5 separate regions of the Homo sapiens genome follow, and regions 1, 2, 3 and 5 are each linked to region 4. Evidence: promoter capture Hi-C in 16 types of primary human blood cells and fetal thymus (Javierre and others, 2016). All regions are on one chromosome and are shown on one strand. Each heading gives the region's core, a stretch centred on a gene start or on the middle of the fragment in contact. The rest is flanking DNA. Distances are from core to core; before and after follow the strand shown.

Region 1 (4,314 bases), core at 533-3,032, about 16 Mb after region 4:
ATTTTAAACCCAGAAACCAATGTCACAATGTCATCATCACATCTAATCAACGCACCACTCACCTGGACTCAGGGTCCCTCTCTTGCTTCCATACTGTGTGTTTCCCTCCCTCATCCTCTACATAGCTCTCATTCTCACATTAGCTTATTTTTTATTTTCTGTGTTTTTCCCCTGGTTCTTTGCGCGTCGTTCTGAGCCCCTCTCATCTCCTGCTATTTCTCCCCTTCTTCCTCCGCTTGCACCTGTTCTGTCCCATTCTGGGGCCTTGTTTCAACTCTGATTCCTCTTTCTCCCCAGTCTTTTCATTGTCCCCAGTCTCCATATATTTCTGCCTCTTTCTTCTCCCATCTCTGCTCCCTCTGTTGAATCTCCTCTTCCCTTCTACACCTCTTGCCCCACTCTCTGGCACCCCCAGATCCCAGGCCTCCCCCTGCTGTGGTTCTCCTTCTGCTCTCCTCGTCACCGGCTGTCCCCTCTTGCTGTCCCAGCACCACGCTGCTTGTCTGCCCTGGCTCCAAATCCCTCCTCCTCTCCCGGACTCTGTCTGAGGAGCCTCCCACTTTCTGGCCCTCTCCCTACCTTGCTGTCCTTCATGTCTCTGGACATCGAGCTTTTCTCTACATTTCCCCAGTTGCTTTTCTCCTTCTGCCTTCTCAGCTCCTTCTCTTACCATCTGCAAATCCCTCGCCCATCCTCTACTTTGCCATCTGGTTACGGGTTTCCCTCACTCTTTCCTCTCAGTTTTTCTACTTCTCTCTCTGTCTCTGCCCCTTTCTCTACCTGCTAATCCCCTTGGTCCACACATTCACAGGAAGGTTTGGACTAAGACGCCTGCATCTTGGAGGAGCGCATTTTCCAGGGGCTGGAGCTGGGCAGGCAAGAACACCGGGTGTCACAGGACAGGCCCCGGGCACCTCCCCAGCGCGGGCTCAGGAGAAGCGGGGACTGCGAAGGGGAGGCCTGGGGAGCAGCAGGGCCCGGCACGAGGAGGAGGGAGGTGGCGGGGCGACGGCGCCTTAGAAGAGGGGTGGGGTCTGCAGGATGCCAGGACCAGGCAGAGGACGCGGCCTCGCCGGTACCGGGGCTGAGGAGCTGCGCTCCAGGGGCCGACGAGGGCGAGGCTGGGAGGCACCCAGGGCGGGAATCCACCTCGCGGGCGAGGACTTTAAAAAGCCCGGGGCGGGAGGAGGGGTCAGGAAAGGGTTTTAAGCGGGAGGAAGACGCGAAAGGCCGGGGACAGGGAGAAGCCTCAGAGCTACTTCAACCCAAAGAGAAGCGACTCCGAACCCACACCGCGAGTCAGCTGGGGTGGAGGGCGCGGTGCGGGGATCTTAAGGTCTGTAGCTGCCGGGCGCAGTGGCTCACGCTTGTAACCCCAGCACTTTGGGAGGCCGAGGCGGGCGGATTACCTGAGGTCAGGAGTTCGAGATCAGCCTGGGCAACACGGTGAAACCCCGTCTCTACTAAAAATACAAAATTAGCCGGGCGTGGTGGCACATGCCTGTAATCCCAGCTACTCGGGAGGCTGAGGCAGGAGAATCGCTTGAACCTGGGAGGCGGAGGATGCGGTGAGCCGAAATCGCGCCATTGCACTCCAGCCTGGACAACAAGAGTAAATCTCCGTCTCACCAAAAAAAAAAAAAAAGAAAAAAAAAAAGGTCTGTAGCGAGCCCGGGAACTGGCTGCGGAAACGGGGCACGGCGGTTCGCAAGTTTAATCCATACTGAGGGACACTCACGCTCGGCGGCGTCACCCGCACCCAACACGATCCGCTTCCGGAACTGCAGAAAACTGCGCGTGCGCGGAAAAGAGCCCGGGCACTCTGGGGGCGGGGCCTGGGGAGAGGCGGGGTCTGCGGACGAAACGCTGGGGCGGAGCTGGGGCGGGGTCTGCGCTTCCCTCAGCCTGCCTAGCCCGCAGTCTCATTTTTCCCGGTTTAGAAACGCTGGAGTGTTCACTATGTCCCCGGGAGCACCGTTCCAATTTGAAGCAGTTTTAAGGTGAAAGAATAGACTTACGTGGACCACTTATGATAGAAACCAAAATGATTTCCTCTTACCAAGTTGAAAACGGTTTATGTTAAAATTGTTTGCCGGCGGGTTGGACCCAGTCCTGCTAGGGAGTCTGCTGCAGCTCAGGAACGGGGATCTGGGAATCGGGGATCTCGGTCTGGGAACTGGGATCTTAGTGGAGGATCCACGAGGCACGGCGATTGGATCCAGCAATTCCTGCAATTAAAATGTATTTAATTTAACTAAAATGTCTGGAAATTATCTCTGAGGATGATTCAAAGTAGAATGGGAAATGCAGCATCCTACCTGGACGGATATGCAATTTAATGCAGTAGCCCAACAGAACCTCCTTTACATTTCAAATCCCCATTCTCCCCAGTGGAAGAGTCAAGCCTGTGCTCAATTCATGGGAAGGTTAAGGCCGATAAGTTAGATCACCAAGGGCTGCTTTATTGTTCTTTAAAACATATATTTTTGTAAAGATGGGAGTCTCGGCCCAGGCTGGTCTCCAACTCTTGACCTCAAGCAATCCTCCTGCCTGGGCCTCCAAAATTGCTGGGATTACAGGAGTGAACTACTGTGCCCAGTCAACTACTGATTTAAACCATGTGAATTTTTAAAAAATAGAGATAAACTGCATTATTTTTGCTTATATTCGTTATTCCGTTCCACACTTGAAATGACTTAACCACAAACAACTTTGACATAATCTTTCTTTGCATCAAAATATGCTTAAATCAATAATTTCTAAATATCATGTAATTTCAAATTCACTTTATGGGCATTCTGAAGGGAACTTGACACAGTACTTTTTATTTTAAAATTGTAATCTATATTGGGTCTATTTTTTTGTTTTCTGTTTCTTAATGTTCTATCAGATGTGGATAACAGAGTGTGGAAAATAGTCACCACATGACAATTGGATTTATTTTCGCCTAAAGAATAGTTTTCCAGTATTTCTAACGTACCATCCCAGTACATTGACTGAACTAAAGACTCACAGGGATACCCTTTTTTCATGTTTATAGAGAACCTAGTTTATACCTGCTATTGTCTTATGTACATTTTCATGTCACACAATTTTATCTCCAAACAACACCCTTATTTATATACACCGTATAGTTTTCACTTTAACAAAATATTAAACGTTTCATCTGGGTTACAATATATGAAAGAAAAAAATAAAAGGGAAAATCATATTAAAAAATAAAAAGTAATTTTACTACAATTGAACATAAACCATGAAATATATTGCTCAATACCATAAACTGAAAATAACATTTCCATAGCCTTTGGAGAAATGCCCTTCCAGTAAAACTGCTTAATCATATTTATTATGTAAGAAACTTTTCCACAGATTTTCACTGAGTTAGTATAAAAACATCTTAGGCATTATAACTAAACAGGATTTCAAAAACATTTTCAACAGTTGTGTTATTTTTAATGAGTCCTATGGGTACAGCGGAAGAATAAATGTAGAATATTACTATCAAGAAAACTAGGGCAGGGCGTGGTGGCTCACACCTGTAATCCCAGCACTTTGGGAGGCAGAGGCGGGTGGATCACTTGAGGTCAGGAGTTCGAGACCAGCCTGGCCAACATGGTGAAACTGTCTCTACTAAAAATACAAAAATTAGCCAGGCGTGGTGGCACATGCCTGTAGTCCCAGCTACTTGGGAGGCTGAGGCAGGAGAATCACTTGAACCTGGGAGGTGGAGGTTGCAGTGAGCCGAGATCACGCCACTGCATTCCAGCCCCGGTGACAGAGCAAGCCTCCGTCTCAAAAAACAAAACAAAACAAACAAACAAAAAAGAAAACTGGGGTCTTCCCAAACCAAGAATTCAGAACTTTCCAGAGTAAATAATTCAGTGTACTAGCGTCAGTCTCCATTTTGTGATGTTGTACTACTAACGCTTTTACAGCTCTGCACTTCTGTTCTGCCCATTTGGTCAAACTGGTCATGCTTGAGTGCTTCCTCCTTTGTCACTAGATGGACGTTCAAACCACACAAAGCTTCCTCTAACCCATCCCCACACCTTATCAACCATAACACACCAAGCAAGTTGCTTATCTGGGCTCTCAAGCCATTTTTAGACCAGCTTTGGAAGTCTACCCAGCTTTCCCCAGAAACCCACATTATGTAATAAACAGTCTCATAACACTTCTCAACCAACCTTTAGGTGAAGTTCAATACAGTTCCAGTAGAGAGGTCACAAGTTCAAATGATCAAAATGTTATGAGGGTGAACATACAAACTTTGTCGTTTATCTGCCAGGAAAAAAAAAAATCTGAATGTGTTAT
Region 2 (3,973 bases), core at 827-3,326, about 19 Mb after region 4:
AGTGACTGCTATGTATATAAGCATACTAATTCTGTGATATATTGTCTCAAACTATTTTCACATATGGCAATAAGAGTTTTAATTTTAATTAGGTCTTTTAAAATTATGACATGTAAAAATTTTCAATTTTTATATAGTCCAGTATATTATTTCTAATGTGATTTCTCCTATTTGTGTGGCTAACAACTTGACACATATAGTTCTATTTCATTTTTAATGACTATTTAGTATTATATGAATATATATAATTTATTTAAATTATTTACTGTTGAGTATATTTAAACATTTAGGAGGTCTTCTCCAGTTTTCACCTATAATCAACAGTGGTCCAGTTTGTACATATCTTCTTGCTTACATGTCAGAATATTTCTTGAAGATATATGCTTGGAAATGAATTTGCATGGTCGAAGTATATGTATTTTTAAAGTGTCATGGATATTTTGCTGTACCGTTGGTAAAGAATATATGAGAATACTGTTTCTAGACATCATCACCAATATGGGTATTTTGTAGTTTAAAAAAAATTTTGCCAAGCTGCTAGATGAAAAATGTTTTATTTAATTTGCATTTCCCCAACTACTTACGATGTTGAGAATATGTGCTCTTAAATCTGTTTAGAGTTTGTATTCTATTCATAGTGTGTTTATACTCATTAGTCACATTTCTATTGGGTTGTATATTTTCCTGTATTTATGCAACATTGATATGAATGCTATTTTTTAATAAGTTTGATAAAATTTTTCCCCAATTTTGTGTGGTCTAGAAGTTTGCATATGGTATTTCTTACTATATAGTAGCTTAACTTGGGAATTATCTTCATTTATAGAAGCACGTACTTTGTTGATTTTTTCATTTGTTTCACTCCTATCTCTTAAAAAATGAATAGATGTATAGTCCCATTTGAATCATATAATACATTTGTTTGACCTTCTGTAACTTAATTATTTCTCTCTCCTTTATCACCTTCCTTCCTTTTCTTTCTTTCCTTCTCATTTTTCCCTTCTTTCCTTACCTTTCTCTTCTGTATTTTGCTGTGTGGCCTGTTTTTTGTTTGTTTTATTTACATATTTTTATTATAGAAGAGTACACATAAAATTTAACCATTTTGAAGTGTACAATTCAGTGACAGTATATTATGTGAGGTGATATGGTAATTAGCTTGATTGTGGCAAACATTTCACCATGTATAAGCATATCAAAACATTTTATACCTTAAATATATACAATTTTTATTTGTCAACTATGCCTCAATAAAGCTGGAAAAATATTGCCAAAAAGAGAGAAATTGCAAGGCTTCATTATAGAATGGCCAGAGAATTGAGGATGTTTTCAGGCTTGTGGAAGTAACCAGGAAAATGTGAAAATAATTGTTTTTTTTTTTTGAGTCAGATTCTGGCTCTGTTCCCCAGGCTGGAGTGCAGTGGCTTGATCATAGTTTACTGCCACATCAACCTCCTAGGCTCAAGCAATCCCCCTGCCTTTGCCTCCTGAGTAGCTGGAACTACAGGCACATACTACCATGCCTGGCTAATTTTAAAAAGTTTTTTAGAGATAGGGTCTTGCTATGTTGTGCAGGCTATGTTGTCCTGGCCTCAAGTGATCCGCCTCAAGTGATCTGCCTCAGGTGATCCACCTCAGCCTCCCAAAGCACTGGGATTACAGGTGTAAGCCACTGTGCCTGGCCCTAAATGTAATAGTTTTTAGAGCTGTAAAATGTATGTTGATGAATTCACCAATTAGTGAATTAATTCACTAGTTTTCCTTTTGGCAGATTCCTTTTTCCTAGCACACGAAAAAGGAAATATGTGTTTTCTTGGTATCTTTCAGGCCAGCGATCTGTACATGAGACCCAGGAATTATTTCCAAAGCAAGATTCATATGCTGAAGGGGTAACAGACAGAACCTCAAACACTAAACTTGATTGTTCCAGTTTCAGAGAAAATTGGGATTCTGACTATGTGTTTGGAAGGAAGCTTGCAGTAGGTCAAGAGACACAATTCAGGCAAGAGCCAATTACTCATAACAAAACCCTCTCTAAGGAAAGAGAACGTACATATAACAAATCTGGAAGATGGTTCTATTTGGACGATTCAGAAGAGAAAGTTCATAATCGTGATTCAATTAAAAATTTTCAAAAAAGTTCAGTGGTAATAAAACAAACAGGCATCTATGCAGGAAAAAAGCTTTTCAAGTGTAATGAATGTAAGAAAACTTTTACCCAGAGCTCATCTCTTACTGTTCATCAGAGAATTCACACTGGAGAGAAACCTTATAAATGTAATGAATGTGGGAAGGCCTTTAGTGACGGCTCATCCTTTGCCCGACACCAGAGATGTCACACTGGCAAGAAGCCCTATGAGTGCATTGAGTGTGGGAAAGCTTTCATACAGAACACATCCCTTATCCGTCACTGGAGATACTATCATACTGGGGAGAAACCCTTTGATTGCATCGATTGTGGGAAAGCCTTCAGTGACCACATAGGGCTTAATCAACACAGGAGAATTCATACTGGAGAGAAACCTTACAAATGTGATGTATGTCACAAATCCTTCAGGTATGGTTCCTCCCTTACTGTACATCAAAGGATTCATACCGGAGAAAAACCATATGAATGTGATGTTTGCAGAAAAGCCTTCAGCCATCATGCATCACTCACTCAACATCAAAGAGTACATTCTGGAGAAAAGCCTTTTAAGTGTAAAGAGTGCGGAAAAGCTTTTAGGCAGAATATACACCTTGCCAGTCATTTAAGGATTCATACTGGGGAGAAGCCTTTTGAATGTGCGGAGTGTGGAAAATCCTTCAGCATCAGTTCTCAGCTTGCCACTCATCAGAGAATCCATACTGGAGAGAAGCCCTATGAATGTAAGGTTTGTAGTAAAGCGTTCACCCAGAAGGCTCACCTTGCACAGCATCAGAAAACCCATACAGGAGAGAAACCATATGAGTGCAAGGAATGCGGTAAAGCCTTCAGCCAGACCACACACCTCATTCAACATCAGAGAGTTCACACTGGTGAGAAACCCTATAAATGTATGGAATGTGGGAAGGCCTTTGGTGATAACTCATCCTGTACTCAACATCAAAGACTGCACACTGGCCAAAGACCTTATGAATGTATTGAGTGTGGAAAGGCATTCAAGACAAAATCCTCCCTTATTTGTCATCGCAGAAGTCATACTGGAGAAAAACCTTATGAATGCAGTGTGTGTGGCAAAGCCTTTAGTCATCGTCAATCCCTTAGTGTACATCAGAGAATCCATTCTGGAAAGAAACCATATGAATGTAAGGAATGTAGGAAAACCTTCATCCAAATTGGACACCTTAATCAACATAAGAGAGTTCATACTGGAGAGAGATCTTATAACTATAAGAAAAGCAGAAAAGTCTTCAGGCAAACTGCTCACTTAGCTCATCATCAGCGAATTCATACTGGAGAGTCGTCAACATGCCCCTCTTTACCTTCCACGTCAAATCCTGTGGATCTGTTTCCCAAATTTCTCTGGAATCCATCCTCCCTCCCATCACCATAGCCTCGAGACGTCATTTCTGTTTGACTACTCCAGCAGTTTAAAACCCCATCTCCCTGCCCTTTTGTTTTCTTTTTGTCCCTTATTAGTTAGTTCTTCACATAAGTGTAAATGTAACTTATTCACTCCTCTTGTAAAACTTATAGTTTCTTTAAATTGGTTAATGTGTGAGATGTGCTCAGCACAGTGCCTGGTCCATAGTAAGTGCTCAGTAAACTTAGCTGTTTTAAAAACTTTGTATTTGAACATTGAAAAGTTACAGTAGTCAGCTCTGATAAAAAAATGATGCAGTAGGGTGAGGGTAGGAAAAAGCACATTTTCTATCAGGAACAGAATTCTCCAGTAGTGGGTGAGGTTTTGCCTTTGTTGGTTTTAAAACTTGATTCTATAATGCCAAGTTAGTTTTGTGGCTTTCCATCTGACCCTATGTGAATGTAAGG
Region 3 (4,253 bases), core at 1,346-3,845, about 16 Mb after region 4:
CAAAATTAGCAGGGTGTGGTGGCACACACCTGTAATCTTAGCTACTTGGGAGGCTGAGGCACAAGAATTGCTTGAACCCAGGAGATACAGGTTGCAGTGAGCCAAGATCACAAGACTGCACTCACAGCCCGGAGGACAGAGTGAGAGTCTGTTTGAAAAAAAAAAAAAAAGTGCATTTCTGATGGGATTGACACAGAGATAAGAAGACTTGAGTAATGCCATAGACACTGATGGGTAGAGGGAACTTCAGATGGGGGTGGGAGGGCATGGGAGACAGCTCTGAGCCTAGACCTGAAGGAGAAAGGGACAGTGCCATCTTCATTTAGAAACATTGAATAAGAGCAGGGACAACAACCTGAGACAGGAAGGATTTTGATGTTTGAAAAAAGAGAAAAGCAAATGTGACTGGGGCAGAGGGAGTCAGATGAGGGTAAGCTCCCAGGAGGAGGCTGGACACTGGCAGGGACCCTGAACACAGGGCTGTGGAGCCAAAGTGAAGAGTCGGGCTTTTGTCCTGGGGAACACGGGAAGCAGGTGGAGGGTTCCCTGCCAGGCACTGACATGACCTGCTTTAGATGTAGCTGTGATATTCTAATACAGACAAAGGCCTCCAAAGATCCTCTCTGTTTCTGAGTCTACCGCTCTGTTTCTTCCATTCTTCTGCTTTTTTTTTTTTCATTTTTGGGGTACTGCATCCCACTGAAAATTCTAATTACAACTGGGCACTCTCCTCTACCAGAAAAAAAGCCACACCCAGACACCGCCTCTATTTTGCCAATCATTTCAGGGGTCAGGATCACTCAGGTTGAGCTTTTCTGGTCTAGCCCTTCGTCGCAAAGATGCAGGGAGGTTCACTGGGGCTCAGAGCTGGAAACATTTTCACGAAGTTACCCTGAGAAGGTCTGAGATGAGTGAGAAGGTGTGCCTGAATTCTTACATGGGGGCCTGGAAGGGCTAATGGGATGGGTTGGTCTTATCATCCCATTCTTAAAATTAGAGAAGCATTTTTCACATGCCTGGGTTAAAGAAAATTCTTTTGAAAGGTTCTGATGAAATTGACTCCCAACATTGAATTCTTCCTTACAAGAAAATCACACTAACATTTATAAAATGCAGCAGTGTAAACACACAGCTCTTGACCTTGAAAACAGGGAAACAGGGTCAGCTGTAGAACCAAGACATAAGCAAATTATTTCAATCAAGAAATACATGGGTGGACAGCTGAGGTGGTTCACACCTGTAATTCCAGCACTTTGGGAGGTGGAGGTGGGTGGATTACCTGAGGTCAGGAGTTTGAGACCAACCTGGCCAACATGGTGAAACCCTATCTCTACTAGAAATACAAAAATTAGCTGGGCTCCATCCTTGCAACTTATTTAACCTCCTGTTGGTCCTTCTCCCCAATCTTTAGATCGTCCTCAATCTCCATAGATTTCTGCCTCTTCTCCCATCTATGCGCCTCCTCTGCTCTCCCTGTTAAATTCTCTCTTCTCTGTTATAACCCCCTGGACCCAATCTGGCACCCCAGATCCCCAGGTGTCCTCCCCGCTGTGCTTCTCCCTCTGTTCTCCTTGCCACCAGCACCACTCTGCTCTGTCTGACCCGGCTCCACATCCCTCCTCCTCTCCCTCACTCTGATGAGCCTCCACATTTCTGCCCCTCTCCCTACCTTGCTGTCCTTCATCTCTCTGTACATCTAGCTTTTCTCTACATTTCTCCAGTTGCTTTTCTCCTCCTGCTTTCTTATCTTTTATCACTTTTGCTGTCTCTTGGCAAATCCCTCACCCATCCTCTACTTTGCCATCTGTTATGGGTCTTTCTCATTCTTCTTTTCTCTGTCTCAGGTTTTCTACTGCTCTCTCAGTCCCTCTCTCTGTCTCCTGATCCCTTTGGCCCACACGATCACAAGAGGGTTTGGAGTAAGACGCCTGCATCTCGGAGAAGCGCATTTTCCAAGTGCTGGAGCTGGGCGGGCAAGAACACCCCGCGTCACAGGACAAGCCCCAGGCACCTCTCCAACGAGGGCTCAGGGGACGCGGTGACTGCGGAGGGGAGATCTGGGGAGCAGCAGGGCCCAGCAAGAGGAGGAGGGAGGTGGGGAGCGACGACGCCTTCGGACAAGGGTGGGATCCGCAGGATCCCAGGACCACAGAACGCAGCCTTCCCGGGACTGGGGTCGCCGCGCTGTGCTCCAGGAACCCAGGAGAGTAAGGCTGGGAGGCGCACAGGGTGGGAATACACCTCTAGGGTGAGGACTTTAAAAAGAGCCGTGCGGAAGGAGTCAAAAAACGGTTTTGAGCAGGAAAACTACGCGATAGGAAACGTATACATTGCCCTATGGCAGAAAGACCCGGGACGGGACCAGCCTCAGGGCGACTTTAAACCTAAAAAGAAGGGGCTTCCGGACTCCCAGTAGAACATCTCCATTTGCTCTGAGTGAAGGAAGAAAGGCGAGAACTTCCAGGTCTATGGGGACCCCACATCCCATGTACAGAAGTGCCGGGGACCTGGGAAGCTCAGACTTAACACCACACAGAGCAAAACTCACCGCCCGCCGCGGCGTGACCGTCATTCCACGGGATCCACTTCCTGGTCTGCGCGAATCTGCGCGCGCAGGACAGAAACCAGGCCTGGGTGGAGCCAACGAGGAGGCGAGCGGGGCCCGGGTGAGGTGTGGGCGGGGCGCGAAGCGGCGAGACCTTGCCCTTTAGAACCCGCAGAGGGCGGGGCCGGAGCGGGACCTGTGCATCTCTCAGCCTCCTCCCAACCCGTTCTCCGGGTTTTGGCGGCGAGAGCCCCCAGGAAGGCAGACGGATAATTCAAAAGCCCTGGAATAGTCTGGAAGGAGGATGCAAACTAGAATGTAAAATGCAAAGCCCTTTCTGGGCGGAACGTAGGATTTCATGCTGATGGCCCACAGGACAGTATAGAAATCTTCTCCCTTTCTATTCTCCATTCACTCAGGAGGGAGAGTCCACCCAGTGCTCAGCTTCAGAGACATCCCTAGGGCCACAGCCTGGGATGCCAGACGGAGTGCTCAGGCCAGGGAGGAGTGAGGTCACCACCTGCTGCTTAAACACAGCAGGGATGCGGGCGTGGGAGCCTGAGGTCCCAGCTACTCAGGAAGCAGCGGCGGGAGGATCGCTCAGCCTGGGGGTCCAGGACAGCCTGCGCGACAATGTAACATTCCCTCCCGCAGTCTCTCTCTTTTTTAAATTTTTAAAATAAAATTTTTATTAGGCCGGGCACGGTGACTCACGCCTGTAATCCCAGCACTTTGGGAGGCTGAGGCGGGCGGATCACGAGGTCAGGAGATCGCGACCATCCTGGCTTACACGATGAAACCCCGTCTCCACTAAAAATACAAAAATTAGCCGGGCGTGGTGGCGGGCGCCTGTAGTCCCAGCTACTCAGGAGGCTGAGGCAGGAGAATGCGGTGAACATGGGAGGTGGAGCTTGCAGTGGGCCGAGACCGAGCCACTGCACTCCAGCCTGGGCGACAGAGCCAGACTCCCTCTCTAAAAATAAATAAACAAACTAAATTTGCTTGTGTGAGATAGGAATACAACATTACTCTTCTCCATATGGATATCCAGTTAGTTGTCCCAGCACATTTGTAAAAGAGATCTGTTACTTTCTCCTTTTTATTTACATTTTTTCTTTTTCTTCTTCTTCTTCTTTTTTTTTTTTTTTTTGAGACTGAGTATTTCTCTGTCGCCCAGGCTGGAGTACAATGGTGACATCTCGGCTCACTGCAGCCTCTGCCTCCTGGGTTGAAGCGATTCTTCTGCCTCAGCCTCCGGAGTAGCTGGCATTACAGGCACACCCACCATGCCCGGCTAATTTTTGTATTTTGGGTACAGACGGGGTTTCATCATGTTGGACAGGCTGGTCTCGAACTCCTGACTTCAAGTGATCCGCCTGCCTCGGCCTCCCGAAGTTCTGGGATTACAGGCGTGAGCCACTGTGCCTGGCCCAAGAAATACTCTTTACTTCGCTTTTTAAATGTTGAAAAAATACAATTGAAAACTAAAAAATCTTCCCCAAAATGAGAAATCATCTTCATGACAAAACAGGAAGAAATAAAAACCATTTTATTAGTAAATAAGCCTTAGACCAGAATGTGTTGGGAAATACAGGCAAAGAGCTGAGAGGTTGAAAAGAGAGAAACTTCACTGCTCTATACAACCCATTAAGTACATGTTTTCAAGATAAACACTAATCAGTCCTCAGGGAAGAGGACTTGACAAGTC
Region 4 (4,329 bases), core at 1,444-3,943:
CTGGAGTCTAGAGGAAAATCTGGCCCAGGGGCTCCCCAGAGACACCCAGAAACCTGGAAAGACAATGTTCCCATAGTCAGTCATTTCACATTCAACACATAAGCACTTCCTGGATATATCAAGGTGCAGGTCCCTGAGCTAGAAACCAAAGCAGTGGTTCTCAAATGGGTATGCATTCAAGTTACCTGGAGGACCTGTTAAATGAAACACAGTTAAAAATTCTCAGCCTACTCCACAGTTTCTGATTCAGTAGGTCTAAAGTAGAACCCAAAAAGTTTCGTTTCTAACTGGTGCCCAGGAAACGCTGATGCTGTCAGTACAGGGACCACACTTTGAGAACCAGCGCTGAGGAGAACATAAAATTTAACAAAATCTGTGATAGGTATTAGTTACGGTGAAATATGGGAAAAGTCATGAGAGATGGAGTAATGTTACTGCAGATTTGAACTGCAGCTCTGACACTTTTCACCTATGAGAACAGAAGTTTCTTCACTTTCTTTTGAGACGGAGTCTCGCTCTGTCGCCAGGCTGGAGTGCAGTGGTGCGATCTCGGCTCACTGCAAGCTCTGCCTCCCAGGTTCAAGCAATTCTCCTGCCTCAGCCTCCCAAGTAGCTGGGATTACAGGCATGCGCCACCATGTCCAGCTAATTTTTGGTAAAGACGAGGTTTCACCATGTTGGCCAGGATGGTCTGGATCTCCTGACCTCCTGATCCGCTCGCCTCTGCCTCCCAAAGTGCTGGGATTACAGGCGTGAGCCACTGCGCCCAGCCATTTCTTCACTTTTAATTTCAGAAATGAGGATGAAAATGCTTATCTCAAAGTTACAAAAATTAAATGAGATAATACTTGTAAAGTACTCAACACCTCCCAGGCACACAAAAATCATACAATACATATCAGCGATTACCATGCATTATCAGATATTAAAACAATATAAAAACAATGTAATAAAAACAAGTAAAACAATAAATATACCAGACAATATTGATCTATATATGTGATAAAAGTGGTATTCAAATGAGTGTGCATAAGACATTCATTGCATAAATGGCAGTGATATAATGCAGTGATATAACTGGCTGGCCACCTGGAAAAAAACAAACTAGATCTCCATCACACACTATTCAGTAGGCAAATGCCAGCAGGACTGATCACTTAATTATGTGTATTTGTTAAATCACAAAGACTATTAAAATAAATTTTAGAAGTATACATGTGTATAACACTGTGGTGGGCTGGGAGGGATCTTATTACACGTGAGAGGAAACACAGACTCTGTAACAGAAAAATCAGATACTTTTGATTAGATGATATTTCCTAACTTTATGTTAAAATATACCACAAAAAAAAGTAGGACAAAAGATATGAAAATTCACAGAAAAGGAAACAAATGGCAATTAACCAAATAAGATGCCAACTTTAGTAACTGGAAAATGCATTGGAGCAATTAGATATAATTTTCCCTCAAAATTTTAAAAACTTTTAAAATGCAACAATATCCACTGCTGGAAAAGCATCTGGGAAAATGAGTTATTTTATAAATTGTTGGTATAAGCTTGAATTGTTATATTTTGAGCTACTTAGTCATATCTATAAAGTATTAAAAATGCACATATGCCGGGCGCAGTGGCTCACGCCTGTAATCCCAGCACTCTGGGAGGCGGAGGCAGGTAGATCACCTGAGGTCAGGAGTTTGAGACCAGCCTGGCCAACATGGTGAATCCCCGTCTCTACTAAAAAATACAAAAAATTAGCTGGGCGTGGTGGCGGGTGCCTCTAATCCCAGCTACTCTGGAGGCTGAGGCAGGAGAATCCGTTGAACCCACTAGGCAGAGGTTGCAGTGAGCTGAGATCGCGCCACTGCACTCCAACTTGGGTGACAGAGCGAGACTCCATCTCAAAAAAAAAAAAAGTGCACATAGTTATTCCTAATAATTTCACATATATAAAGCAGAAAAAGAAGGACAAATGGACAAATAACCTTTCCAGAGTTGAGTACTTTACCTTCCTCTGTAATTAAGCAGACAAAATAATCTGTGAGGAGACAGATATATTTTTTGAATATATGCTTAATTAATATCTATAACAATACAATTAGAGAACATAGTACACTGTTTCTATGTAATAGATGTGACATTCATGAAAACTGACCACGAACTAGGTCATAAAGCAATTTTTCAATTTGACCATTAAACAGACATTACTTTAAAAAGGAACTTCTAAATAACTCATGGATCAAAGAAAAAACCACTTAGATTTGAACAATTTTTAATACAAAGATTCACCAAAACTTGAGAATTTTTATATTAAAGAAGACTGAAAATTAAAAAGCTGAACTTTCAACTCAGGTTAGAAAGCAAGCTGATTACAGTCCTCACCGATCACCATAACTGACCCTACAGGCTCTGTCACTGACCACAGACTCCCATCACTGACCCCCAAACCTCAATCACTCATCCCAAAGAGCTCCATCAATGACCTGAGAAATCCGTCACAATCAACAACGGACGCCACAGAACCCCATCACCGAAGCCTGAAACCGCAATCACTAACTCCACAGGCAACCTCGACACCCCCTATTACTGGCTCCACAGAAACCCCAATCGTGATCAACCAAAATCACCTCAAAGATTTATCGGTATTGGAATATGAAAATACTCCTGACACCAGCGGCAAAAAAGCCTTGGAAGACCACTTCCACTTCCGGTCCGACTTCTAGCACCTCCCCTTTGTAGGCTGTTGATATGGCGCATGCTCTGAATAAACTTGGAAGCCAGTTTCCTCGAACAGTCAACAGGGCGCAGACACAGCGCACAGGTTCCGTAATGTGGCGCTGTCCGGCAGAGAACATGGCCGCGCCCTTATGGTGTTTATTCGCGTGGGCCGCCATTTTGAAAGCATATCCATTCCGTAGAGCAGAGGAATTGGCCGCTGGCAGGGTTTCCTAGAGCGAGGCAGGTATAGTTACATAGGATGCTGGAGTGTGACCCTTGTCTGACTAGGCTTCTATTTCGGAGGAGAAAGTTACTGGAAATGTGGGTCTGGTGCTGTATGTTATATTTAGAAAAGCTAAGTTACCTTTCTGAATACAGGACACTGAGGATAATAATTACCAGGGAATAGAGGAGCCAGGGAAAAATCACCAAGTGAAGGGGATCCTGGGAGAAACCACAGGCAGATGATAGGAGGAATCAGGATAGTACAGTCCATTTTTTACAGACGCCATTCAGGGAAAAGGTGGAAAGGTCACTAGGGGAGTCATCTCTTGAGTGAAACCACCCTGAAAGTCTGAGAGACATCTGAATGAGTAGTAGGCTGCAGGAAGAGTGGTACAACTTTTAATGGGAGAAACCGCCTTGGGAAATAGGGTAGAAGTCCAATAGTATTAATACAATCCTCTCCTGGGAGATACCACCAGAGGAGGGAGGAGAAGTCCGGGCGTCCCCTTCTGAAGGGCTGGGTCGGGTGGGAAGGTGAATAGAGATTTGAATCACCCATTACCCTCCACACTAAATACCTCAAGTGCAACTATAGTAGGCAGCAATAATAACAACACTAATAGTCTTTAGTATGGCCAACGTGTTACTAAAAGCACCTAAAGAAGACTGTTTTTATTTACCTTGAAGTTAAAATATAATTAATAACAATCGCCTTACCATGTCAATGAAGCTTTAAGTGCAGTCTCTGACCCTTAGCTTCTCCTCTGTGGAAATTCTGAAACCTCCTTACTCCCCTTTTTGGAGGGTGTGGATGAGGAGTTGTAAAGATACAATTCCTTTCACTTGGTGAACTCCTAAACATGATTCACAGCTCAGCTTCTGACAGGAAGTTCTACCTGAACAGTGGTGGGAAATTACTACCCAATGTGTTCAGTTCCAGCAGGTGGGAAACTTGTTTTCAGGGAATTGAACCTACACTCTGATGTGGGCATGCTGGATGCCTTCAGGCCAGTTATGTCTGTCTCTGGGACTCGGCTTAAAAATATGTTTAGAGAATTAGACTCTGCTGATCTCAGGTTTTCTTTCTTCTCCGAAAGGACGGTCTAAGGAAACATCTGTGGAAGTCCGTTAGTAAACACACAATTTCTACCAAGGGGCTAAGAATTACTGTTGATTTTGTCAGTAATGCAGCTCTGTTAAAAAGAAGATGACTTAACTTTTAGGGATTCGTGTGGAAATATTTATGGGTGGAATAATATTAGCTTTAAAAACTCCACTGAGAAAAAAAAAACTCCACTGAGAAGGGGTATATGGTATTGCAAAAGAAAATGTTGATAAATGTTAAAGCAGAGTGATAAGTAGACAGAACTCATTATAATGTTCTCTTC
Region 5 (4,152 bases), core at 930-3,429, about 15 Mb after region 4:
AAAGAAAAAAGTAAATTCATTACAAAAAAACAAGACTTTCAATGCTTCTGCGAAGACATACCTTGTAGGCCTAGTGTGGTGGCTCACATCTGTAATTCCAGTGCGTTGAGAGGCTGAGGTGGAAAGACTGCTTGAGGCCAGGAAGTAGAAGCTGCAGTGAGCCGAGATCATGCCACTGCTCTCCAGCCTAGGCGGCAGAGAGAGACCATGTCCCCCCCCAAAACAAAACAGAACAAAGCCAAAAAAAACACCAAAGACATATCTTGTAGTGACAGTCAGTCATTTCTTGCCCCATTTCTCCCCTCCTTTATGCTCTACTCCATCATTGGGAAGAAGAGAGTTACCACAAATAACTGGATCAAGTCACTGCCCTCTGGCTAAATAGGAATTCCAAATATCTTTTGATACAAATACATACAAAATGCACAAGGCTTATAGAAAAAACTTTGGTGATTTTCATCCTCATGAGTACAACTTAAACATATTTCAAATCAGAGTATAAAGCCACAAATCAATATATTACAACCACCATCCATATCCAATCAACTGTCACGCATCTGGATGGGGTCCTCTCCCGCTTTCTTCACGGCTATGTGTTTCCCTCTCTCATTCTGAGCGTCTTTTTTTTCTCCTTTTCTGTTTTGCACCCCTTTCTTTATTCCCTCTTTTATGTCTGTTCTGCCCAATGCTCTGCAACTTACTTCACCTCTCGTAGCTCTTTCTCCCCAATCTTTCCGATTGTCCCCAATCTCCACGTATTTCTGCCTCTTTTCCCCCATCTAAGCTCCCTCTCTGCTCTCCTTGTTAAATTCCCTCTTCCCTGTTACATCTCCTTTGTTCCCACTCTCTAGCACCCCCAATTTCCTAGGCTTACTCCCTGCTGTGGTTCTCCCTCTACTCTGCTTGTCACCCACTGCCCTCTCTCCCTCTCTTTCAGTCCCAGCACCACGTAGCTCTGTCAGCCGCGGCTCCAACTCTTTCACCTTCTCCCCACTGTCTGTCTGTCTGCAGTGCCTCCTCCTTTGCCGCCCCACTCTATTTTGCTGCCCTTCATCTCTCTGAAGGTCCCCTTTTTTTCTAAATTTCTCTGTGTGCTTTTCTCCCCCTGCTACTTTTTCCATCCGTTCTCTTTCACTCTTGCTCTCTTTGCAAGTCCCTAAAGTATCATCCATTTTGCCGTGTATTTATGGGTCTCCCTCATTCTTTTCTCCTCAGTTTTTCCTTTTGCTCCGTCGTTCCCCGTCTTTTCCTCTCCTGATCCCTCTCACCCACACATTCGGGAGGAAAGGGGAGGAATAGGATGCCCACCTCCCGGAAGAGCACATTTTCCAGTGGAGTAAAATTTGGGAAGGAAGAACACTGGGTGTCACAAGACAGACTCAGGTAACCTGTCCCAACGGGGAGTCAAGAAAAGCAGTGGCTGTGAAGGGGAAGCCTGGGGAGCGGAAGGACCCGGCGTGAGGACGACACGAGGTGGCGCGGAGAACGATGTCTCACGACAGGGAGGGTCTGCAGAATCCCAGGACGTGGGAGGAGAAGCGGCTCCTTCAGGAGCCGGACAGTGGGCGCTCCCCTCCAGGGGCAGACGACGGAGGAGCTCGGGGATCGCGAAGGGCGCTAGTCCACATCCCGAATGAGGACTCGACTTGGCGCGGGGCCCAAGCAGAGGGTTTTAAGCGGGAACACTACCTGAATGGGGTTGTCTACATGGTCCTAAGGAAGAAAGGCAGAGAGCAAGGAACGGCCTCAGAGAGATTTTAAACCGAAAGGGAAGCAATTCTCCTACTTACTTGGGACGAAGGGGCTGTTGCGGGTATTTTAAGGTCCGTAGCGATCCCCAGGTCACGGGTATGGAGAACCGAGGACTGCGAAGTGCACGTTTAATCAAGGTAGACGAAGAGAAGCAAACGTTTAATCCAGGTAGACTGAAACACACTCATAGCGACGTGGCCTTTCCCCAGCGCGATCTGCTTCCGGGTGTGCAGGAAACTGGGCGCGGAAAGAAAAACTGGGCGGCCTGGGGGCGGGGCCTAGGCGGGGCGCGACTAGGAAAGGGCTGGGCGGAAAGACTGGCCTGACTTGGGAGTGGCCCGAAAGGGTGGTGGGAGGCCCAGGGCGGTAGGGGGCGTGACTAGGTGGGGCTTGGCTGGACCGAAAACTGGGATGAAGCGGGGCCTCCAGGGGTGGGCGGGGCCGAGGCGGGGCCTGTTCTCCACTCCGCCTCTCACCCAGCAGGATTTTGTTTTCCAGGTTTGGGAGTATTTGTGACTATTTCTTGTCCTGTGAAGCAGCGTTGCTCCTTGCCCATTTTAAATTAATGTTTCAGAATTTAAGGTTGAATCTTAAAGTTGTGGTCCACTTATACTGGAAACTAAGATGATTTATTCTTAACAAGTTGAACTGATTTAAGTCAAAACCGATTTTTCCGAGCCTGGTGGACTCCATCCAGTCTTACCAGAAAAGCTGAAGCTACTCAGTAGTCAGGGAACTGGGATCTCGGTGGGGATTGGATGTGGAGCAGTGACTGGATCCAGGAACCCAGAAGACATTATGCCAAGCGAAATGTGCTAGACACAGTGTAGAAAATGAAATAAGTAGAGGTTCCTCTTCAAAGGGACTTTCCTCCCAGTCTAATTGAGAATAGATAGTAACCTCTCTTAGAAGCAAAATTTACTCAAAGACCTGTGCTAATATTCTTAAATATCTGCTAGCCATAATAGATAAATCAATATACTCTGTGTTCTTAGCTCCCACATTTTAGCCTAGATATTTGCCCTGGCATGCCTGAATTGTTCCAAGCAAGCATTAGGTCACAGCCTATTCCTCTTCCTTATTTGGAAGTGTTTTTGCCTCTCTCAGCCTTCCACAAGTTACTTCCTCTCTTCCTTTGTTCTCCTCTGCCTTTGCCTCTTTTGGGAAGTTCTAAGGTGCTAGCCAATCAGGTCAAGCACAGAATTGGGTCCGATTCCAGCCAATGGAAACCAGACACAGCAGTAGGGTGGACGCGTCAGGTTATTATTATTATTATTTTTTTTGAGACGGAGTCTCGTTCTTTCGCCCAGGCCGGAGTGCAGTGGCGCTATCTCGGCTCACTGCAAGCTCTGCCTCCTGGGTTCACGCCATTCTCCTGCCTCAGCCTCCCGAGTAGCTGGGACTAGAGGCACCTGCCACTGCGCCCAGCTAATTTTTTGTATTTTTAGTAGAGACGGGGTTTCACTGCGTTAGCCAGGATGGTCTCGATCTCCTGACCTCGTGATCCGCCCACCTCGGCCTCCCAAAGTGCTGGGATTACAGGCATGAGCCACCGCGCCCGGCCAGATGCGTCAGGTTATAAATGACCCTTCTCTTTTGTTCATGTGTACTCTCGTGGCAAGACTGCTAGTGAGCAGCACCCTTTCTGCAGAAAGTAAACTAGCCTTGCTGAGAGATCCTTTGTCTCAGTGTTGATTTTTGCGACACTGAGCACCCGTTCCCAACACACACAAAGAAACATACTTCATGCACTTACTTACACGTGCTAAGTACAAACATCAAATTCAGAGTAACAAAGTAGAAGGGTGGTTTCCAGGGCTGAGGGTGTTTCCTATGCCTGTCCCACCATTGTATTTTGGAAGCAGATAACTTCTCTGGCTTCACAGATTCACAGCTGGGCAGAAACTTTGCCTCAGGATGAACCACACCTTGTGTCTCACCCATATGTGATTCAGATAATATTTAGGTGATATTTGGGCCTTAGAGTTGATACTGAAATGGATTAAGACTTTTCAGATGGGCCAGGCAAGGTAGCTTAGGCCTGTAACCCCAACAATTCAGGAGGCCGAGTCTGGCAGATTACTTGAGCTCAGGAGTTCAAGACCAGCCTGGGCACATAGCAAGAACCCCGTCTCTACAGAAGATATAAAAATTAGCCATGCTTAGTGGCACACTCCTGTAGTCCCAGCTACTTGGGCGGCTGAAGTGGCAGGATCACTTAAGGCCAAGGATTTGAGACCAGCCTGGGCAACATAGTCAGACCCCATCTCTACAAAAAATTAAATTAGCCAGGCATGGTGGCCTGCATGTGTGGTCCCAGCTATTGGGAGGCTGAGGCAGGAGGATCACTTGAGCCCAGGAGGTCGAGACTGTGACAAGTCATGATTACGCCACTGCACT

Evidence for each region. Contacts are between HindIII fragments. The CHiCAGO score rates a contact against its expected background, and 5 or more counts as called.
Region 1: a contact is called between the fragment with the promoter of ZNF347 here and the fragment with the promoter of ZNF585A in region 4, in 2 of 17 cell types (activated CD4 T cells and naive B cells). The highest score is 9.2, in activated CD4 T cells.
Region 2: a fragment that was not itself captured here is called in contact with the fragment with the promoter of ZNF585A in region 4 in 1 of 17 cell types (activated CD4 T cells); the score reaches 5.4 in activated CD4 T cells.
Region 3: a contact is called between the fragment with the promoter of ZNF468 here and the fragment with the promoter of ZNF585A in region 4, in 1 of 17 cell types (total CD4 T cells). The highest score is 6.4, in total CD4 T cells.
Region 5: a fragment that was not itself captured here is called in contact with the fragment with the promoter of ZNF585A in region 4 in 1 of 17 cell types (total CD4 T cells); the score reaches 5.2 in total CD4 T cells.

What each region holds. Positions count from the first base shown.
Region 1 is chr19:53,157,271-53,161,584 of GRCh38, forward strand. ZNF347 (zinc finger protein 347) reads right to left here and starts at 1,783. Exons shown (of 5, transcript NM_032584.3): 1 at 1,739-1,783. RefSeq lists an enhancer at 1,686-1,980 and a silencer at 1,716-1,965. The HindIII fragment of the contact is 5,586 bases long and covers 1-4,024 here.
Region 2 is chr19:56,551,857-56,555,829 of GRCh38, forward strand. ZFP28 (ZFP28 zinc finger protein) reads left to right here. Exons shown (of 8, transcript NM_020828.2): 8 at 1,828-3,973. The coding sequence ends at 3,536. All of the region lies in intron 1 of ZNF470-DT (ZNF470 divergent transcript), which reads right to left. Among named protein-coding and RNA genes, the nearest start is that of ZNF470, 14 kb to the right of the region's middle. RefSeq lists an enhancer at 2,395-3,594. The HindIII fragment of the contact is 210 bases long and covers 1,972-2,181 here.
Region 3 is chr19:52,855,024-52,859,276 of GRCh38, forward strand. It overlaps ZNF468 (zinc finger protein 468), which reads right to left and starts at 2,596. Exons shown (of 4, transcript NM_001008801.2): 1 at 2,549-2,596. RefSeq lists an enhancer at 2,195-2,274. The HindIII fragment of the contact is 10,660 bases long and covers 1-4,253 here.
Region 4 is chr19:37,170,002-37,174,330 of GRCh38, forward strand. It overlaps ZNF585A (zinc finger protein 585A), which reads right to left and starts at 2,694. Exons shown (of 5, transcript NM_001288800.2): 1 at 2,626-2,694; 2 at 1-53. RefSeq lists enhancers at 2,595-2,784, 2,626-2,920. The HindIII fragment of the contact is 2,114 bases long and covers 1,556-3,669 here.
Region 5 is chr19:52,093,785-52,097,936 of GRCh38, forward strand. It overlaps ZNF841 (zinc finger protein 841), which reads right to left and starts at 1,981. Exons shown (of 7, transcript NM_001136499.2): 1 at 1,791-1,981; 2 at 62-187. The HindIII fragment of the contact is 4,438 bases long and covers 1-4,152 here.